Linked DNA regions of Homo sapiens: region 2 is linked to region 1. The links are contacts of gene promoters, found by promoter capture Hi-C in human tissues and cell types (Jung and others, 2019). All regions are on one chromosome and are shown on one strand. Each heading gives the region's core, a stretch centred on a gene start or on the middle of the fragment in contact. The rest is flanking DNA. Distances are from core to core; before and after follow the strand shown. Region 1 holds the start of UBR7 (ubiquitin protein ligase E3 component n-recognin 7). Region 2 overlaps BTBD7 (BTB domain containing 7).

Region 1 (3,391 bases), core at 391-2,890:
AAGGTTGTGCCACTGCACTCAAGCCTGAGTGACAGAGCTAGACTCCATCTCAAAAAAAAAAAAAAGTACCTGCCTATTTCTGCATTCGAGGCAATTTTTTAAAAATAATGCAGTTAAACTTCATGTTTCTACTTTCAAACTGCACCTACAAAACTGGAAAGGCAAGGGAGTCTCTGGGAGTTAATACGTGATAAAATGAAGTCTGTCCCAGTCTTTGGAACCTGTTCCTACTCTGCGATAGATTGTACTCTTCCAAGTATGTCTGTAGTTTCACACCTGATAAAACTCCTTTTTATTCAACACCCAGCTCAAAAGTCTTATCCTTTCTGAAGACTTCCTAGGGTGTCTGGGTTTGCAACAGTTACAGAGGACCACAGAACCACTTTCACTTTTTTTTTCTTTTTTTTTGAGACGGAGTCTCGCTCTGTCGCCCACGATAGAGTGCAGTGGCGCGATCTCGGCTCACTGCACCCTCTGCCTCCAGGGTTCAAGCGATTCTTCTGCCTCAGCCTCCCGAGTAGAGTAGCTGGGACTACAGGAGCATGCCACCACGCCCAGCTAATTTTTGTATTTTTAGTAGAGACAGGGTTTCACCATATTGGCCAGGCTTGTCTCGAACTCCTGACCTCGTGATCTGCCTGCCTCGGTCTCCCAAAGTGCAGGGATTACAGGCGTGAGCCACCAGCCCGGACCACTTCCACTTTTAATAAGAGTGTCTGCCTGTCTAGTCCCCTTGTGTTTCACAAGGGCAGGAACTGAGTCGCATTCACCTCATTCTTCCTCCAGGGCTCAGCTCAGGGTTTGGCACATAATAGTAGGCATTCGACACGTTTTTTTGTGAAATAAACGAAATAGCGATGAGTTGTGGAAACGCTTGAGTAGAAGCAGCCCAAATAAATATAGTGATAAATGCCAACAATTTTTATTTTTTAAATTATTTTAAAAATAATAATAGAAACGGGGTCTCGATATGTTGCCCTGGCTGTTCTGGAACTCCTGACCTCAAGTGATCCTCCTGCCTCGCCCTCCCAAAGTGCTGGGATTACAGGCGTGAGCCCCACTTCGCCTAGCCCGCCAAAAATTTTTAGATGCAATTCTTCTTTCCTCGAGGCTCACTTTGTCCAAGTCTGCCACTCTACACGGGCTCCCCAAGCCAATTTCCCCTGGGCGCCCGCCCCGTCCTCCGGTCACTGCAGCACCGTCTCAGAGCTCACCGTCCAAGTCCTCGTCTGGAGCCGCCGCCACCCGGTGCTGCACTTCCCCCTGTACCAGAGGGTCGAATAATTCCGTTACCATGTCCTTCATCTGGGCCACGCCAGACAACAGGCCCTGGAAAGGGTCGCCGTCACCCGGCGCCTCACAGGACACCCGCAGCTTCTGCGGCTTCCCTTCCTGCCCGACGTACTCTCCCAGCAGCTCCATGGTGACCGCTAAGCTTCCAGAACACGACACCGGGAAGCGCCACCCGGAGGCGGAAATCAGCCCGCGTCCGGCGCAGGCGGGAGAAGGGAGAGGAGTGACATCCGTTTGTCGGAAGTCGCTCCTCCCCCTTCCTTCGCTTTTTTTCCTTGTCATTGGTTCCTGGCACTCGGGCCCCACCTCCTCCGGCTACGCCCCTCACGGCCGCTTTTCCCGCCTCCGCCGGGGCCGAGCCGCTGTTCGGCTGACAGTTGAGGATGGCCGGAGCCGAGGGCGCCGCTGGGCGGCAGTCGGAGCTGGAGCCCGTGGTATCGTTGGTCGACGTCCTTGAGGAGGACGAGGAGCTGGAGAATGAGGCGTGCGCTGTCCTGGGCGGCAGCGACTCCGAGAAGTGCTCCTACTCTCAGGTGGGCGCGCGGCCCGGGCCTCCTCTCCCCCGGCTCCCGCCGAACCTCCCCTTCCCGGCCCGGCTGTCCCTATTCCCGCCTTGCCGCAGTCGTCTCCCCAGTGGTGGTCCGGGGCCGCCGTTAGTCTGCCGCTTCCTCACCCCAAGCTCACCCTTCCCTTTTAACCCCAACCTCCTGGGCCCCCTTCAGCCTGTGTCCAGCAGGGGCCCCCCTCTCCCCTGTCTCCAACTCTGTCCGGCCCGCCAGGAAGGGCCCTGGAGCAGCTGCTCTGTCCGTCCTCTCCAGCCTCTTCTTGGTGCACCACTGCTTTTCACGAAACCACCCCGCGACCTCTCAGATCCAGACATCTTTGTCCCTGATTTTCCCATCCTAAGATTATTTATTTATTTATTTATTAGGGACCGAATGGGAGAGTCAGGTTAAAGAGATTTTCAAATCCATAGGGATTTGCGGTGAGCTCCTTGACAGCTAGTTCCTCTGCAATTTAGTTGGACAAGTGCTAGCTAGTACTTTTTCTTTCTTTCTTTTTTTGGCAAAATGAAGCAAGTACCCATGTCTATCTGCAGTCTGCCCCCCTCCCCTGGAAATAGACCGGAAACAGAACAGCAAGTGGCTCTGGCAAGGGAGGGGAGAGAGGAGAAAAGGATCTGTTTGGCATTTGGAAGACGTTGTGAGTGAGCAAGTGTTTGAGGGGGTGTGATGTGGTGTTTAGTGACTCACCCTACACTTCGAGGTACAAAAATGGAAAAGGATGGGTAGGAAGAAGACTGACAAAGGATGAGAATTGGTAGGAAGAAGGGTTACCTAGGAAGAGGGGTGGATTGGAACACTGGGGAGATGAGGGGAGAGACTTGTATTCATTATGTGGTATGAACTGAGATCATAATACCAGTTCTCGTTGTTGACCAAGGTTAGTTTACACTGCAAAGTGCTAGATTGTTGAATAAACCTGGTATCCAGACATAGCCCCAGGTATTTTAAAACCTTTGGTCACCACTAAAACAATTTTTCCCCTGCTTTACTTAAAAAAAAAAAAAAGAAAAAAGTTATGTCTATATGTAAACTATTTTTGAAGTGTAGTTACCTTTATAAAATGGATTCCTTAATATTTTCTTTGTGGTAAAAAAAAAAATACGGAAATTTGCACAAATCATGTACACAGCTTGAAAGGAAAGTGTGCGTGTTCCCACAACCCAGATCAACAAATAGAACATTAGGAGTGCAAAAGGCTTATTGGAATAGAACTTTAAAAAAAAAAGAAAGAAAAAGAAATAGAACCTTACTGGCATCCCGGAAGCCTCCTTATCTATCTTCCTCCTTCCTAGAGGAAGGTAACTATACCTCTTATACATATTCACTTTTTTTTTCTTTTTGAGATGGAATTTCACTCTTGCCACCCAGGCTGGAGTGCAATGTCATGATCTCTGCTCACTGCAACCTCCACCTCCTGGGTTCAAGTGATTCTCCTGTCTTAGCCTCCCAAGTAGCTGGGATAACAGGCGCCCGCCATCACGTCCAGCTAATTTTTGTATTTTTAGTGGATGGGGTGTTCTAGAGATGAGGTT
Region 2 (3,391 bases), core at 487-2,986, 98 kb after region 1:
AGTCCAGGAAAGTAAGTGTTAATAAGGTCCTGGCTTTATTTCTAAAATGGGGGCAATATAATAACACCTACTTTACAAGGTTGTTTTAAGAGTTAAAATAATATGGACTGCTGGTCAGGCATGGTGACACATGCCTGTAATCCTGGCACTTCAGGAGTCTGAGGCAGGCAGCTCGCTTGAGCTCAGGAGTTCGAGACCAGCCTGAACAACATAGCAAGACCCCATCTCAGAAAAAAAAAAGTTAAAAAAAAAAATAAAAAAGATAATATGGACTGCCACTCGGAAAGCAGAAACAGGAGCCTATCAAAAGAGAAATGTCTTTTGAGGGACTTGGGCCTGTGCCAGGTCTGACCTGGACTAGACGAACTACATCTTAAAAGATGTTAAAATATTCTTTAAAAAATTCAGTTTCTAGCCATTTAAAGCAGAGAACCAATTCCTGGAAAGTGGTGCGTTAAGAATGAATGTGGCTGCACTGTGAAGACACAAATGGGCCTCTCCTACTCTGCCACCTTTACCCTCAGAGCTCACACTCCAAATGCTTCATCCTGACCTACAACCTCAGAAGAAGATCCTCTTGAAGCAACAGATGGAAAATGGGAATTAGAGGGCTGAAACGGCCTCCCCACCCCCCACCAGAGGAAGGCCTGACTCTAGGACAATGGGAGTCGCTTATTCCTCTTATCTGGTCTTTGGCAGAGGGCCTGAGCAGTGATGCCTACAGCAGCCAGTGCAGGAGCTGCCTTGGCCTGGACATCCCCAAAAGTTTTGATGTCTTCTAGCAGCTAGAATCCCCCAAAACTGAAGTAGCTCTGGAAGGAGCCTGAAAAGTCTTCCCCAAAAGTCAGGAAAAAGAGCCTATAAGCAGAGGGTGAAAAATTATTATGAGGCCCTGCAAGACAGACTGCAGAACTTGCCCAATCAACTCTCATAAGGTGATGGGGCCTGCCATTTGGAGCCTCTGTGTTTACGATATGGAAAACTAGCACTGAGCCCGGCACACAATATTTTATTGAATAAAGGAAATGATTGTTCTAATCAGGGACAACTGTTTTTATTGTTGGCTTGAGAGTGTACAGAAAGATGGTTCACTCTAGATTTAGAGATGGTGATAAAAATGAGTCTAGATTTGAGTTTATTATTTATTTATTTTTATTTTTGAGACGGAGTCTCGTGCTGTCGCCCAGGCTGGAGTGCAGTGGCGCAATCTTGGCTCACTGCAACCTCTGCCATCCAGGTTCGAGCGATTCTCCTGCCTCAGCCTCCCGAGTAGCTGGGATTACAGGCGTGCATCCCTACACCTGGCTAATTTTTGTATTTTTAGTAGAGATGAGGTTTCACCATGTTGGCCAGGCTGGTCTCAAACTCCTGACCTCAGGTGATCTGCCGGCCTCGTCTTCCCAGAGTGTTGGGATTACAGGCGTGAGCCACCGTGCCCGGCCTAGATTTGAGTTTAAAGAGGACTTGCAGAGAGAAATAGAACTGACATCAGAGAATACATTCAAATCAACTGAATTTAAAGGGAAAAAATGCAATTTCTCCTAAATTCCATTCAAAGCCAAAACATTCAGATTTTCTGACACCAACTTAGCAAATGTTTAAAATACAAGGGTATACTTCTTATTGATAAGTTACCATGGGTTCCACTAGTAGAGCTGGAGAGATAAGCAAACATGCTGGGTGAACCCTAGAGTAAGCCTGAGACTATGGCTGCACAGACAGAAGAGAACACAGAACAAAACAGAAACTCAAAGGTTTCCTCATCCAGGGCAGTCTTCATGAAGACAGTTCAAATTCCAAACTGTTAGATCATTAAAGGAATAGGCATGTGACTAGCCCTATGAATTATTCAAATTCTTATAAATAAGAAGACAATAATGGCTTAGCAGTTGAGGTAATTACATAGTAAAATTCTATTTTTCTTCACATTACGGAGACTGAGTCTAAATAAATATGAGGGTGGGGGACCCATTACTTTAAATTTTCAGTGAAAAAGTTACAAGTCATATATAATGGCTTAATACTGGCTAGTCACTCCATTCTGATGAGCTCCTGCCCATCAGAATATTTGCTATTTAAAGAATCTTTGTTGGCATGTTAAGTGAAAAATGTGTTCCTCCTAAGTTTCTTCTGAAGTCTACACTTAGAGTCTTGTATATAGTGGTCCTTGTAAAAGAAGCACTAGTGGTTGTGATGATGAACAAGTTTTGAGAACGTTTAGCTATAAAAGACCCTCTCTGTAAGAGACATCAACAAGGTCTCTTATGAAAAACAAGAAGTAGAAAACCAGACAAAACTCTCACTCTCACAAGCATTATTAGAGGGCTTTCTTATAACTATGGTAATTTTTCCTTAATCCCATTGCTTGTTCTGTGCTACCCACTTGTAGCAGAAACACTGGGAGAGGATATTACAGTTTAAGTATGTCAGAATGAAATAGATATTCTTGGCCCTGTTAAGGCAATGAAAGTCTGCATCTTAAAACTCTATTTTCCATTTGTTTAGAAGCTTGTCTTAGTCTGTTTTCTGTTGCCGTAACAGAATATCATAGACTGGGTAATATATAAAAAAATCTATTTCTTACAGTTCTGGAGGGTGGGAGGTCCAAGACCACCCCAATATCTGGTGAGGGCCTTCTTGCTGTGCCCTAACATGGCTGAGGGCACCACATAGCAAGAGGGCAAGAACATGCGTGTCAGCTCAGGTCTCTCTTCCTCTTATAAAGCCACCAGCCCCATTATGGTGGCCCCACCCTGATGATTTTATCTAATCCTAATTACTTTCCAAAGGCCCTACGTTCAACTGACATACAGATTTGGGGATTAAGTTCCCAACACATGCAATGTGGGGAACAGCAAATCATAGTAGACATCTATAATAAAAAATTAAGTAATACATATGAGGTCCTTATCATAGAAGACATAGTGAAGAATGCTCACCAAACTGGTAAGGGGAATGGTGGAGAGGAAGAAGGAAACGATGACTGAGGTTTCTACCTTGCATAACTGGGTGGTTACAATGCTGTAAACCAAGAAGCATATAGGAGAAGCAATTTATGGGTCCACTGAGGGTGATAAAGGTAATGGGTTTGAAATCTGGGAAAGACATATTAAAGAGGCCAGGCACGGTGGCTCACGCCTATAATCCCAGCACTTTGGGAGGCTAAGGAGGATTGCTTGAGGCCAGGAGTTCCAGACTAGCCTGGGCAACAAAACAACCTCATCTCTCTTTAAAAAAAAAAAAAAAAAGACGTTATCAAGGAAGAAACAATTCAAACAGAACATAAAGAAGTCTAAAAACAAAAGTTTTCTAATACTATTAATAATATCTAATTTCTAAAGGTAAAATTCCTTGTATTACAATACAGCATTCTCCCAAGATAATTCATTTA

Evidence for each region. The method cuts DNA at HindIII sites, captures the fragments that hold promoters and counts their contacts. A contact is called where the count stands out against the background at its distance.
Region 2: a contact is called between a fragment that was not itself captured here and the fragment with the promoter of UBR7 in region 1, in 2 of the 25 tissues and cell types used here (hippocampus and liver).

Annotation. Positions count from the first base shown.
Region 1 is chr14:93,205,616-93,209,006 of GRCh38, forward strand. It overlaps UBR7 (ubiquitin protein ligase E3 component n-recognin 7), which reads left to right and starts at 1,641. Exons shown (of 11, transcript NM_175748.4): 1 at 1,641-1,826. The coding sequence starts at 1,677. GON7 (GON7 subunit of KEOPS complex) reads right to left here and starts at 1,450. Exons shown (of 2, transcript NM_032490.5): 1 at 1,215-1,450. The coding sequence starts at 1,422. RefSeq lists an enhancer at 687-1,546. The HindIII fragment of the contact is 21,573 bases long and covers 1-3,391 here.
Region 2 is chr14:93,303,210-93,306,600 of GRCh38, forward strand. The region is part of intron 1 of BTBD7 (BTB domain containing 7); the gene reads right to left. Among named protein-coding and RNA genes, the nearest start is that of BTBD7, 28 kb to the right of the region's middle. The HindIII fragment of the contact is 5,621 bases long and covers 1-3,391 here.